Linked DNA regions of Homo sapiens: all the other regions are linked to region 3. The links are contacts of gene promoters, found by promoter capture Hi-C in human tissues and cell types (Jung and others, 2019). All regions are on one chromosome and are shown on one strand. The core of a region is centred on a gene start or on the middle of the fragment in contact, and the rest is flanking DNA. Distances in the headings are between cores, read along the strand shown. Region 1 holds the start of ADPRHL1 (ADP-ribosylhydrolase like 1). Region 2 overlaps DCUN1D2 (defective in cullin neddylation 1 domain containing 2). Region 3 holds the start of PROZ (protein Z, vitamin K dependent plasma glycoprotein). Region 4 overlaps ADPRHL1 (ADP-ribosylhydrolase like 1). Region 5 overlaps ATP11AUN (ATP11A upstream neighbor lncRNA).

The links. Contacts are between HindIII fragments. The study calls those that stand out against the background at their distance.
Region 1: the fragment with the promoter of ADPRHL1 here is called in contact with the fragment with the promoter of PROZ in region 3 in 3 of the 25 tissues and cell types used here (H1 embryonic stem cells, IMR-90 fibroblasts and adrenal gland).
Region 2: a contact is called between a fragment that was not itself captured here and the fragment with the promoter of PROZ in region 3, in 5 of the 25 tissues and cell types used here (IMR-90 fibroblasts, aorta, dorsolateral prefrontal cortex and 2 more).
Region 4: a fragment that was not itself captured here is called in contact with the fragment with the promoter of PROZ in region 3 in 2 of the 25 tissues and cell types used here (heart right ventricle and liver).
Region 5: a contact is called between a fragment that was not itself captured here and the fragment with the promoter of PROZ in region 3, in 1 of the 25 tissues and cell types used here (heart left ventricle).

The regions. Positions count from the first base shown.
Region 1 is chr13:113,452,207-113,454,906 of GRCh38, forward strand. It overlaps ADPRHL1 (ADP-ribosylhydrolase like 1), which reads right to left and starts at 1,282. Exons shown (of 8, transcript NM_001394807.1): 1 at 1,018-1,282. The coding sequence starts at 1,231. The HindIII fragment of the contact is 9,965 bases long and covers 1-2,700 here.
Region 2 is chr13:113,477,616-113,480,315 of GRCh38, forward strand. The region is part of intron 3 of DCUN1D2 (defective in cullin neddylation 1 domain containing 2); the gene reads right to left. It also overlaps the pseudogene RNU1-16P. Among named protein-coding and RNA genes, the nearest start is that of DCUN1D2, 12 kb to the right of the region's middle. The HindIII fragment of the contact is 4,398 bases long and covers 1-2,700 here.
Region 3 is chr13:113,157,262-113,159,961 of GRCh38, forward strand. PROZ (protein Z, vitamin K dependent plasma glycoprotein) reads left to right here and starts at 1,387. Exons shown (of 8, transcript NM_003891.3): 1 at 1,387-1,469. The coding sequence starts at 1,400. RefSeq lists enhancers at 870-1,447, 2,024-2,601. The HindIII fragment of the contact is 7,105 bases long and covers 1-2,700 here.
Region 4 is chr13:113,428,473-113,431,172 of GRCh38, forward strand. It overlaps ADPRHL1 (ADP-ribosylhydrolase like 1), which reads right to left. Exons shown (of 8, transcript NM_001394807.1): 4 at 480-620. Among named protein-coding and RNA genes, the nearest start is that of ADPRHL1, 24 kb to the right of the region's middle. RefSeq lists an enhancer at 2,281-2,700. The HindIII fragment of the contact is 8,177 bases long and covers 1-2,700 here.
Region 5 is chr13:112,682,495-112,685,194 of GRCh38, forward strand. It overlaps ATP11AUN (ATP11A upstream neighbor lncRNA), which reads left to right. Exons shown (of 3, transcript NR_164109.1): 3 at 780-2,003. Among named protein-coding and RNA genes, the nearest start is that of ATP11A, 6.2 kb to the right of the region's middle. The HindIII fragment of the contact is 7,909 bases long and covers 1-2,700 here.

The DNA.
Region 1 (2,700 bases), core at 32-2,531, 290 kb after region 3:
GGAAAACCAGAAGCAGGAGCTCCTGGACGCCAAGGCTGTGAACAGTCGGACGCCTCCCCGTCTCCAGCAAGCCGGGAGCCTTATCTTATCGCCGGCGCTTCAGCTCTCCCGTTATTTAGGGACCGGCCACAGGCTCGATGGCATTCCTCTGCTGTGAGCACAGAACTAAACTGGGCACGTCCATGGCAGATGAACAGAATGGTGGAGTGAACGCATAAGTGAGATTTCATTGACTTAGCTGCAGCCCTCAGATTTTAATTCTGCCATGATAAACAGCACCCACGGGGTTTTGAAGAGCAAATGCCTCGTAGGAAAGCTGGACTGCATGTCTGTGCACCTGCCATTTCCCTGAAATTCATGCAAAAGCTTGATCCTAAAATCAATTTGCTACTTAAAGGTATTTTAAGAAGCTTTGTCTCCAATCTCGTCCAATCAAGTTTATGTCATTTTCTTAGAACACATTTGTGTATGGGCAACTCTCCAAGCTGAACCATTTTGGGAGATGATATTCTAACTTTAATTCATTGGAATTTAGAACTAATCCCCAAACAGTATTAATGGGTTCACATTTCAAACTGGCTTATTTTACATCCCTTTGTAATGAATTCAGAACAAGAAGGCTTAATCTCTGCAGCGAGAAGTGAGCCCTCACCCTACTCCCACCAGCACGGCCGAGAGAGGCTTCACTGGCTTTAACTCTATTAGAAACAGAAGGTGCTAGGCCTAGTTAACGCTTTACAAATACAAGTGAAAAGTCACGTTTAAAAACTGAATCTTAATAACTGCAAAGTAAAGTAATACTGTCACCCTCAGAGAAACCACAGGAGAAACGTGATCTGCCGCATATCAAATTTGAGGGACACTCAGATTAAATTGCCACTTTTAGCAGCGGTATCAGGTAACACCATCCGCTGAAGGACCGCACTGCCTTCAAAGCTCTCGGAGGCTTACTGGGAGAACTCGAGCAGCCAGTGTTCCCTCCAGCCCGCACACCGGAGCGCGGTGGGCCCAGCCTACCTGTGGTGAGGGCCTCGGCGGTTGCGATGTGCATGATGGTGTTGTCACTCACGGGCCATTCTCCTGGCGAGAGTACGAGGTGGTCCAGGCCCCCGGAACGTTGCAGCTCCTCCTGGATCTTCATGCCTACAGTGCTGTTCTCCTTGCAGACATTTCTGTAGCCAAGAGCATCGCCGACGCTCCCCAGCAACATCGCAGCCTTAAATTTCTCCATCCCAGGAGGCAGCTCCTCTTCCCCAACAGCTGCGGAGCGTCCTGGCCTTTGTCTCCTCCTCAGCCCGCCTGACTTTTATAGTGGTCACTGTGTCACTGTCAGGAGCGTCCTCTGATGGCCAGGCGCTCCTTGTCTATCTCTGCAGGTGGCACCAATGAGAGGACCTTTCTGTCCCCCACGTGGGAGGTGTCAGTTTTCTTCTGCGTCTGGACAGGCACCAGCTCCTCAGCAGAGGAGCCTGCTAGCTTCTGCCGGCAGCCGCAGCACATTCAGAGCGTTGACAGAGCAGGGGCTCCTCTCGCTGTCCCTGGAAGGAGTGCGCACACTTCCCCGTGTGTGGCGTGGGGTGATGCGGGAGCAGATGTGTGCAGGCGTGCCTGTCACTGCCGCCCGCTGCGGGGCGTGCCCTCACCCCTCGGGCAACAACCCATCTGCTGTCTCTACAGTTCTGCCTTTCCTGGACATTTCAAATACAATGTGTGGCCTTCGGTGTCTGGCTTCCTTCACTCAACATAATGTTGAGATTAATCTGTGACATGCGGTTTTATCATTTAGAAAACTTTTCGATTATGAAATGTGTTTTTGATAGAAAACTTTTAAAAAATGCAGTGTAGAGGGAACAAAGTCTATCTAGCTCCTGTGTGAACAATGACGGTGTCTTCTCAGCATGCGGTGTTTAACGGCTCCCAAATAATTGGACTGCACTGAGGGGGAAAGTCGTCAGCAAACCGCAGGCTTCACTAGAACCTCCCATCCGGCCCTCGGTCAGCTCAGTGTATTTACATCATCCCTGCTAGCTCATGAAAAGAATATTAAAAAATATGGAGACGGGGGGTGAGGCAGAATGCACACAGCCAGGGTTCCTGGTTTGAAATAAATTAGGAAAACAGTCCATCTCCCGACCCCACCCCAGGACAGTTCTCCGCAGAGGCCGGGAGCCCAGCAGGGCTGTGTCTCTCCCGTCTCCTTCCTCGGGGCCTGGTTTCCATCAGACCCAGGGGAAGCAAAGAGTTACACCTGGACTGAAGAAATGCGTCTGATAAAAACTCTCGTAGTGTACAGCGAGACAGTAGGAAGCATTTAACCGCCTGGCGTTATATCAGCACTTGTTAAAACGGAGGATCTCAAGCAGTGAGTTCACCTCACCCTCCACTGTCTGCTGGTGGAGGCAGCCATCAGCACAGTCATGCCAGCTAGCATGATCCTGAGATTCAGAAACAAACTTCAAAACCAGCATGCAGGCCGGGCGCGGTGGCTCATGGCTGTAATCCCAGCACTTTGGGAGGCCGAGGCGGGCGGATCCCCTGAGCTCAGGATTTTGAGGCCAGCCTGACCAATATGATGAAACCCCGTCTCTACTAAAAATACAAAAATTAGCCGGGCATGGTGGTGGGCACCTGTAATCCCAGCTACTTGGGAGGCTGAGATAGGAGGATCACTTGAACCTAGGAGGCAGAGGTTGCAGTGAG
Region 2 (2,700 bases), core at 111-2,610, 320 kb after region 3:
ATTCCAGTAAGTATAATGTTTTCCATAGGAATTTTTTCCTTTTGGCCAGATTAAGAACTGCCCCTCTTATTCTTAGTTTTCTATGAGTTTTTTTTTTTTTTTTTAAATGAAGAAACATTGAATTTGATCAAACCCATCTTATGCACTGGGATGATCCTTTTTTTCCTGTTGTTAACCATGGTAAATTAATTACACCGATTGACTCTGTAACATTAAACGGATCTTGCATTCCTGGATATAACCAACTCTGTCATGATGTATCATCCTGGGCTTATCGTCTTGGGTTTTTTGCTAATGACTGGTCAGTTTCCTGATACTGTGTGTAGGATTTTTGCATCTTATAATCATCTTATGCATCTTCTGAGTCTTACAGCTGAGAGTGGCCTATAATTTTCCATTCTCAAATGTTCTTCCTTGGTTTTGTCATGCAGCTTTTGCTGGCCTTAAAAACAAATTGTGAAATCTTTCTTCCTTTACTTCTCTGGAAGAGGATGTTTAAAATTGGGGATTTTCCTTTTCATTAGGAGTTTGGTAGGATGTGCCAATTAAGTCATCCCAAACAGGAGTTGTCTCTTTGAGAAGATTTTAAACTACAGGCTCAAATTCTTAAGAGTTACAGAACTATTAAGATGTTCTATTTCTTCATGTGTCAGTTTTAGTAAATTACATTTTTCACATACGTTGTCAAATTTACTGGCATAAAGCTCTTCATACATGACTTTTTTTTTTTTAATGCTTCTGGCACCTATTATCTCGTCCCCCTTTTCATCTACGTACGTTACTTGTGATTTACCACATTTACAAGTCTTTTCAAATAACAAGCTTCTAGCTTTATTGATCCTTCCTAATGACAACTTCTTTTCTATTTAATTATTCTTGTAAATTAGTGCTTCTTTAAAAATATTAATTCCTTCCTTCTATATTCTTTTTCTATTTCTTGAGATGGAAGGCTTTGCTCACTGATTTTCAGCCTTTCCTTCTTTCTAAAATATGCATTTAATAAGCTGAATTCTACAAGCTTACATATATTGTATTTTCATTATTCAAGATATTTTCTAATTTCCATTGTAATTTCTTTCTCATCCCAAGGGTTACTTAGAGGTATGCAATATCCACACATATCCCTAGTTATCTTTTTGTTATATTCCTAGTTTAACTGTACTGTGGTCAGAAAACATACTCTGTATCATTTCAAACCTCTGGAAATTGTTGCAATTTACTTAATAGCCCAGTTTATTGTCAATTTTTATTAATGTTCTGTGCCTTTAATAAAGTTTTTTTTTTTTTAATTTTAAACACCAGGAGAGAACACGAACATAGTCCCCCACTACCACAAATTATGCAGTCCAGTTTCCCACATTTGGGAAAACCACAGGCGTCAGCACATCCAGAATGCAATGGATAAGCCCAGCTCTGGGAAAATCACCTTCATGATGATGGTATCTCTCCTGCCAGGCTGTTCTGTGTTTTCTTTTGAAAAGAATATGTATTCTTAAGCATCGAAGGCAACATTCTAAATGTTCTCCTAGGCCATTTGTTGTGCTGTCCAAATCTTCTATTTCCTCACTAATTTTTCATTGACTCATTCCATCAGTTACTACGATGTGTGTGAAAATTCCTCACTTTGATCATGGATTTGTATCTTTCTCTTTGTAGTTGCTTATTTTTGCTTTAAATACATTGGGACTCTTCAACAAATACATAAAAACGTAAGTGTGACTGCCTTCTTGGTGAGATAAGCCCTTTATCATTATGAAATGGTCCTCCTTATCTGTAGAGTTCCTGTATGCCTCAAAGCTGTTTTAGTTGTATCTATTTTAAACAATATGAACAGGTGATATTTAAAAATCCATCTGGGCCAGGCACGGTGGCTCCCGCCTGTAATCCCAGCACTTTGGGAGGCTGATGAGGCAAGGTGGTGTGTCCCCTGAAGTCAGGAGTTCAAAACCAGCCTGGCCAATATGGTGAAATCCCGTCTCTACTAAAAATACAAAAATTAGCCGGGCATGAGGCATGAGAATCGCTTGAACTCAGGAGACGGAGTTTGCTGTGAGCCAAGATCGTGCCACTGCACTCCATCCTGGGTGACAGAGTAAGACTCCATCTCAAAAAACAAACAAACAAACAAACAAGTAGGAGTACACTCGAAAATAATAAAAAGTTGAGTAAATAAGCTAGTAACATAAGCCTTTATATTATCAAGTATTATATACTGCACATAACTGGATGCGCTATGCTTTTTATACGACTGGCAGTGCAGTAGGTTTGTCTGTGCCAGCATCACCACACACAGGCAATGTATTGTGCTATGACACTATGATGGCTGGGATGTAGGAATTTTTTAGCCCCATTCTAACCTTACGGGACCACTGTTGTATAAGCGGTCCACTGTTGACCGAAATGTCATTATGTAGTGCATGACTGTAGTTCAGTAAGCTTAATGATTAAGAGACAGTTACATTAGGCCCTTTCATTTACTTTTATAACTTATCTGATAAGCGAGAAACACCTTAAGTTATTAATGAAGCCTTTATCCCAATCCTGTAGGTAGAATAGAAAAATGTTACAAGCAAAAACCAAAATGACATCTTAGTTTTTAACAGAGCAGCATAAGAAATTCTACGTTTAATATACAGTATTATGAAATAACACGAATGAACTGAACCTGGCATTTACTGTCAATTCAAAATTGGAAAGGAA
Region 3 (2,700 bases), core at 137-2,636:
CCACTCCTGTCTCCACCTGGACATCCCACAGACACCTCAAATTTGCCAAACCTCGCTTCCCTCTGCCCTCCTGGAGCTTGGCCGTCTCAGCACACGCACTGCCATCCTCCCAATCGCTCAGCCCAAACCTTGGAGCCGTGCTGCCCGACACAATTCATCATGAATCCCATCAGCTTTCCCTTCCTGAAGCATCCAGACTGCAAACGTGCTTCCTGCTGCATGGCTGCACCCTCACCCCCTCCTGGACTAGCCGGCAGCCTCCCTTTTGACTTCTCTGGAATGTTCTGTTCTCCACACAGCAGCCCAGTGATCCCTTCAGAGCACAAATCTTTCCATGTCAATTCCTGTTCCCTCCAATATCTTCCCAACACAGTGAAAATGAAACACCAGGTTCTTACCTCAGGCTTCAAGGGCTGATATGGTTTGGCTGTGTCCCCACCGAAATCTTATCTTGAATTGTAATCCCCATAGTCCCCACGTGTCCTGGGAGGGACCCGGTGGGAGGTAATTGAATCATGGGGGTGGTTTCCACCATGCTATTCTTGGGATAGTGAGTGAGTCTCAAGAGATTTGATGGTTTTATAAGGATCTGGCATTTCCCCTGCTTCAGTCATTCTCTCTGCTGCCACCCTGTGAAGAGGTGCCTTCTGCCATAATTATAAGTTTCCTGAGGCCTCCCCAGCCATGTGGAACTGGGAGTCAACTAAACCTCTTTTCTTAAATTACCCAGTCTTGGCTATTTCTTCATAACAGTGTAAGAAGGGACTAATACACAGGGCCTACATCTGAAAGCAGCAAACGACAACCCTGGGGCCAAATCTGGCCCCTTAATAGCTCTTATAAATAAAGCTTTATTGGCACACAGCCAAGTGTTCATTCATGATTGTCTATGCTGCCTCTGCTACAATGGTGCTGAGCTGTAGTGACAGACACTATTTGGCCCTTCCCCGCTTTCTCCCTCCTCCCTCCCTCCCTTCCTTTTCTCCCCTTCCTTCTTTCCATCCTCCTGCTTTCCCTCCCTCACTCCCTCCTGTCTCTTTCCCTCGTTCTTTTCTGTGTATTCCACACACACCTAGAACGTAAGCTGCATGTGACTTTGTCTGTCCCGCCCAGTGCTGTGTCCCCAGGGCCTATCTCACCTCCATTGACCACACACGGGCATGGGTGCCACCTTCCACCTTGCACCTGCTGCCTTTACCTTCTGTTCTCTGTCTCCCTAAATATCTCCCAGGGTCCTCTGAGCCTTCACCGTTCATTTCTCTGCCTGGCCTCAAACAGAAAACGTCAGGAGGGAAGCACACAGCTGCACAGGTCGTGCCCCGAGGCTCCTGCTGCCGGCACCTCCCCCAGCCTGGACTTTGGCTGTGTTTGTAGCCCTGTCCCAGCGCTCCGGGTGGGAATGGCAGGCTGCGTCCCACTGCTCCAGGGCCTGGTCCTGGTCCTCGCCCTCCATCGTGTGGAGCCCTCAGGTAGGCATCTGGCTTACCTGTCTGTTGTGCCTGTGCTGTGTCTTTCTTGACTCGGTCCATGGTGGATTTGTAGATGAGGCTTTTTCCAGGAGCCAGAGGAGCCCTGAGTGCCCAGACTAGTCTTAATTCCCCTGAAAAAGCTGTTTGGATCTTTATCATTTGGTGACAAGTATTTGGGACATGATAGTGTCACTTGGGGTCCTCCCAAGAGATGCCCAAATGGAAAGAAGCCTGTGTGCAGGGGATTCAGCCGGGAAAGGCCGGGGAGAGGGGAGGGGGAAAGGGGGAGGAGTGGGGGGAGGCCTGGGTTGGGCATTGGACGAGGGGAGGGGGTGGGGCAGGCTGAGCCCAGACTGCAATGTGGGCAGAGAGAGCCTTGGCCAGGCCAGCCAGGAATGCCCAGTCTTGAGTCAGGAGACATAGCCAGGGAGCAGCCACCCTGCCTGCCTGCCACCCTTCTACCACCAGCCACTTCACTGAAGGAACGACATGGACTCCATTCTGACTCTGCCTGCACAGGCGTCCAGGAAAGCTGCAAGTCAAAACACCCAGCATCCCCGCTGGCCCCATGGTCTCCCGCTGGCCCCATGGTCTCCCACCCTGAGAGGGTGATCCCCCCGCCCTGCCCTGCCCAGCACTTACCGTAGCCGGACTTAGCTGAGCCCCCCCTGCTGTAACCCTCAGCACCGAGAGAAAAGGAGGGAGGATGGGAAGGGCCTGGGCTTTGACCCTCCCGGAGAGGGAGAGAACATGCTTTGGGACCCTCAGGTGGGAAGAGGCTCCAGAGACCACTGCCGCGGGTCAACTCATTTGCCTTCTCCTCCTGGAAATCGCAGAGCCTGCTGCAATGTATAAGTTTCTTCTTTATGTGTTTTATCAAGATGTTAAATGCTGCGCACAGAGGCAGCACAGGAGCTGATGGCTCTTGGTCCCCAGTTCTCAGTACGGGGACCTTTGACCCCAGCTCAGCCTTCCTTCGCACTCAGACCCAAAACCCAGTTGGAGCCCTCCCTCCTCCACTTTCCTGACTGAGGCCCGTGGCCTCTCTGCAGAACCTTAGTGTATCCGCACTGATCCTGGGGCTGATCCATTCGCCCAGAGGATGAAGTGCTTGCCTACCTCGGGGGAGGGAGTAGCGGGGTGGCCCTGAGGCCCTCGCAGGCTGAGAGCCTGTGGAGACGGACGGGGCTGGGGCTGGCGGCCGGCCGGGGAGGAAGCCAGGCAGCTCTGG
Region 4 (2,700 bases), core at 139-2,638, 270 kb after region 3:
CTTCCGGAACCGTCACGGATTTCCTAGTCCCATACCTGCTGTCCCTGCCTCTGGCCAGCCTCATGGGGCTCCTGAGGGAAGGGCCCAGCCCTGAGCTCGCCCAAACCGGCAGAAGCAGAGTTTTTCCAGGGGGCACCACAGGTCCCACTCACATCCCAGTGGCTGCCAGTCGCTTGGTGCCGCGGGCTGGGGTGGACGGGGACGGGTGGACCCGCCGGAGGCAAATGTCCCCGGCAGGCTCAGGTCTCTCTGAGGCTCCGGGTGGGGAGGCAAAGCCTCCCAGGTCAGGGCAGAGGCAGACTGGTCAGGAGCAGCATGGGGCCTGCCTTGCGAGGCCAGCTCTGCTCACATGGCCCGGACAGGGCCCTCCCAGTTCCATCTAAGAGCGAAAGTGCCTTGAAGTATTTGGGGGCCCATGGAGGGGCTGGATCTGTCCAGATCTGCTCTGAGTGCGGACTGGGGCCGGGGGAGCGGCTCACCTGCCGTGTGCCGGATGGTCTTCCTGCAGTACTCTTCTGCCAGAGGCACCGCCCGCAGCATGTCTCTCCCCCACTGGACCAGGGGCTTTCCTTGTGCGGCGAACGACACAAACAGGGCCGTGCACAGGGAGCCCAGGAAGCCTGGAGGGCAGGGAAGAGAGAGGGGGCACCATCACCTGGGCCGCTTGGGAGGGCCTGGGGCCGCCCGCCACGCTGCGTGGGACTCCCGAGGAAGGGTTTGCTCGTTTTCCGTCTTTCCCATGTTCAGGTGCACAGTTCGGCGGCATTAACCACGTTCACACTGTGGACATTCTCCATCCTCCCTGGAACTCCCCATCTTCCCAAACTGTAGCTCTGTCCCCACTCCACTCACCCCACCGCCCTCCCCAGGCCCTGGCCGCCCCCAGTTGACTTTTCTGTCTCCGGATGTGACTGCTCTGGGTGCCTGCTCCTCGTGGGACCGCACGCGATTTGTCCCTTTGTGGCGGGCGTGTTCCACTCAGGACGCATCCCCAGGTTCACCCGCGTGGCTCGCCACGGCTTCCCTTCCTCTCCGCGGCTGAATCGCATTCCGTGCGTGGACGAACGCATTTTGATTGCCCGTCATCTGTGTGTGGATGCATGAGCTGCCTCCGCCTTTGGCTATTGGGAACACCGCGTCACGTAGACCTTTAGCATCCGTGGCCGGGGATTATCAGTTAACGAGCCTGTGCAGGAAGAAGGCTGAGGTGGGGGCTCTCCTGACTTGAGAGCGACCCCGCAGAGCTCTGGGTCCGTTGTGCACACTCAGGCGTTTCCTGTGCGGGGCCGACTCACTCGCCCTGCTGGTGCTTGGGGCTTTTCTTGCCTAACTTCTGGGCGTGCATTAGCAGCCAGCAAGCTCATCAGCACAGACAAGCTCAGAGCTCATCTTATAGGCACTGCCTCCCTTATTTTCTTTGGTATGTCAAATTTTACAACTGTTTACTGAAAAATAAATGCATGCGAGTATATATGTATTTAATAAAACACGGTTAAGGAAGAAGTCCGGGAGGCCTGTCCTGGTCCATCTTCCAGGGCAGTGGGGAAAGATGGAGCCAGCGGCTTCTGGGGTACTGAGCTCACCCCGCAGTCCACACAGCCAGCCCTGCACCTCACGGAGCAGGTGGCACTGGGTGCGCAGCTCTCAGGGAACATGGCCACGTCTGGCCCCACTAGGCTCCCATCCACCATTGCAGTGGCCTCATTCCGCTAGTGTGCAAGCCATCAGAGAGGAGCTCGGAAGAGACTGATCTGAATTACGATGATCCTGGCCATAATGAGGCTAACAATGCCCAGGGCTGGCAGGACAGTCCTGGAAATCCCGTGGTCACCGTCTGGGTGGAGACAGCCCTGGAGGGGCTGCCTCTTCCAAAGACATGAGCTCTCTCCTCTCACTGCTAGCCATCGTGGGGACTGCAGCCGCTGCGGGTCAGTAGTGGCAGGAGGCGAAGTGATGGCCATGGTACTCATGATGTAGTTTCAGAGATGCAGTCGTGTGGGAGGACTAGTGACGGCCGTGGTGACAGTACCAGTAGCAGCAGCAACAATGGTGGTGGTACTCGTGACGGTCAGGGTGGGAACAGTGTGGTGCCAGTGACTGCAGCAGTGGTTGTCGTACTAGTGACGGTATCATGTGGAGGAACTGGTGATATCAGTGGTGACAGGACCAGTAGCAGCAGCCATAGTGGTGATGGCTGTACTGGTGACAAAAGCGGAGCAGTGATAAAAGGCGGGGGTGGCACTAGTGGCGGGGGTGGCAGTGGCACCAGTGGCGGGGGTGGCAGTGGCACTAGTGGTGGCGGTGACAGTGTTGCTAGCGACAGCAGCAGTAGGGATGGTGTGGTGCTGCCGATGGGAGCAGCTGTGGTGGTGGCAGTAGTTACAGTGCGAGTGGCCATGCAGGGGAGCAGTGACCCCCGTTGCCGAGCCCTTGCCCCACTGGGCACTGCTCCCAGGGTGTCATCTGCCACTCAGTCCTCACGAGAGCCTGTGAAGGGCATGGTGATCACCCCTCTTGTGGATGGGGCATGTGGGGCTGAGAGGTTGTGTTGCTGTTTTGGAGCCATGTTAGCTTCAGAAGGTTCTGCTGTGGACCCTGTGGGTGTGTCTGAGGCCCACAGCCACCTAGGAGAGGGGCGAGCCTGCTGTCACGGCGCCATTGGCCAGAGGCAGGCTCTGCGGTGGGTGCCGCGTGCGTTCT
Region 5 (2,700 bases), core at 111-2,610, 470 kb before region 3:
GCCCCTGTCAGGCCCCATTCTATTATACTTTCTGTCTCTATGGATTTTATATCTCTGGGGATCTCATATCAGTGTAATCTTACAATATTTGCCCCTTGAGTCTGGCTTCACTGAGCAGCATATATTCAAAACCATTTTTTTTCATACTTTTTTGGCTTTTTGAGTAGACTGAGATAATTTCCAGTTATCTAAGAATATTTAAGTATTCTTATAAGTTACAATAGATGAAAAATATTTTAAGGGAAACCATTTTATCTTTCTCTTTAAAAAAGTAAAGGGGTGGCCAGGCGCGGTGGCTCACACCTGTAATCCCAGCACTTTGGGAGGCCGAGGCACGTGGATCACGAGGTTAGGAATTCAAGACCAGCCTGGCCAACACGGTAAAACCCTGTCTCTACTAAAAATACAAAAATTAGCCAGGTGTGGTGGTGGGCGCCTGTAATCCCAGCTACTCGGGAGGCTGAGGCAGGAAAATTGCTTGAACCTGGGAGGCAGAGATTGCAGTGAGCCGAGATCGCATCATTGCACCCCATCCTGGGAACAGAGCAAGACTCTCTCTCAAAAAAAAAAAAAAAAAAAAAAAAAGCAAAGGGGTGAGTTTTCAGTTTTGTAGAAAGTAAACAGTTTAGTTTTACCTTTAAAAGTAAAAAGTTTGATTTTCATAAATTGAACATTCATTAAAGTGATGTTATGTAATATCCAAGCAACTTGCTTGACCAAAGGTACGAATTACTTTGAATAATGCTAAATTTCTAATTATCATCCACCTCTTATTTCAGATACCCTATCATCTTTACTCTGTTGGAGAGGAGCTATAATGGTCTATATTAAAGTTACTGTTCAGACAGATGATTCCAACAAATTGCTTTCATTACTTTATCGGTAATTTTAAGCACTACACAACTTAGTTGTTTTTTTCTGGAAGAAAACTGGAATTAAAATCATTGATCCTTTAGAGAAATAAAACAAAGGAGAAGGGAGTGTACAAAATAAATAAGAAAAGAATTCTTACCATACTTTCCTGTATTCTTACTGAGAAATAAAAATGGGACATTGAGAAGCAAAATTAATCCCGATTAGGCTCGCTTTGGGACAAGCAACCACTTTGCATGATTACCCATCGTTAGGTGTGAAACGGAGCCAATGATCGCTCATTGTCGAGGAGAAAAGACCTGGAGACCACGGCTTATCCAGTCTCGCTCCTGACCTGCATCTGAACACCTGAAGGAAGAAACTTTAACAAGAAAAAGACTTCAAGTGACAGAGGAGACAAAAGTCTCAAAGGTGCAGAATTCAAGAACTCATGGTGTCTCAGGATGGGTGTGAAAGTAACAAATATGAGATCCCCTGACAACTAAACCCAGGCATGTCCAGGAATCCCGGGATGCGGTGAAAGTTTTCACAGTGGAGCTCACAGGAATCCCCAGATGCCGTGAAAGTTTTCTCAGCGGAGCTCACACCAGCATTGTCTGGAATATTAAATGTTGTTATGCTTTGAGATTGGCACTTATGCCATTCAAATTTTTTTATTAAGAAGTACAATGAAATTTAACTTATTCCATTTTTGACACCAATGTAATGACCAAATTAAACTAGATTTTCAAAAATAATCAGAGGCCCTGCCCCACAAACTCCTCCTGGGCACAGGAAGATGTGGGGCCAGTCAGTAGTGACTCCTCTTGGGTGCTGATCCACCATGCTGAATTCAGACCGGCGCCAGTCCCCTGAGCGCCTCCCAATTCCTATGTGATTTCCTGTCCCTAGTATATGAACATGTCAGCCTTGATGTGATCACACAAATTATGGGCCATGACGCATCTACCACTCTTGCCTGTTCTGAAGGGCTGCCTTTAGTTGTCTTGCAAAGAGCACTTACACCTCTTCCCTACGGCACAGAAGCCCTGGGTCTGGGGTGACAGGGGCAGAGACCTGCCTGTCCTCCAGCCACCCAAGACCATGCTTCTGTCTGTAGGTTCCCCCAATAAAACACCCTTTACTGACAGATTTCATTGGTCTGGCTTATTCTTTGGTTTCTCAGCTCCTTCGGCGTTTGAGGGCCATGTTGCATATGTGGCCCTTTCCCGGAACAGGAGACAATGTTCTACGTCACGTTCCAGGACAAATGGCCTGGCAGAGCATGGCAGATGATCTCAGGGGGCGTTTGAGCAGGACCTCACTCTCCATAGCTCTCCTTCCCGGTGACAGGAGTCATGCGGGATAGATGGCCTTGCACGGGGCACTTTTCACTCTGCGAGTGCTCACGCCTTATGCTCTTCATTTTGTTAGTGCTCGTCAGCTAAAATAGCAGGTTAACTAATTCTTTCAGCATCTGCTGAGCACCACGCTATGCCTGAGGAGAGAAAGGTCGATAACTGATGATAACTGATCATCCAACAGGTTCACGTTCAGGTGGGAGACAGACATTGAGATGAACGACTCAGAAACCTGCTACACTGGGAGCTTTTACAAAAGCTTGGACCCCACTCCAAACCAACTGAGTCAAAATGTCTGGAGAAAGGCTGCCTGGGAAGTGCTATTTTATTAGTATTATTATTTGAGACAGTCTCACTCTGTCACCCAGGCTGCAGTGCAGTGGCATGATGGGAACTCATTGCAGCCTCAACCTCCCGGGCTCAAGCAGTCCTCCTACCTCAGCTTCCTGAGTAGCTGGGACTACAGGTGTGGGCCACCATGCCCAGC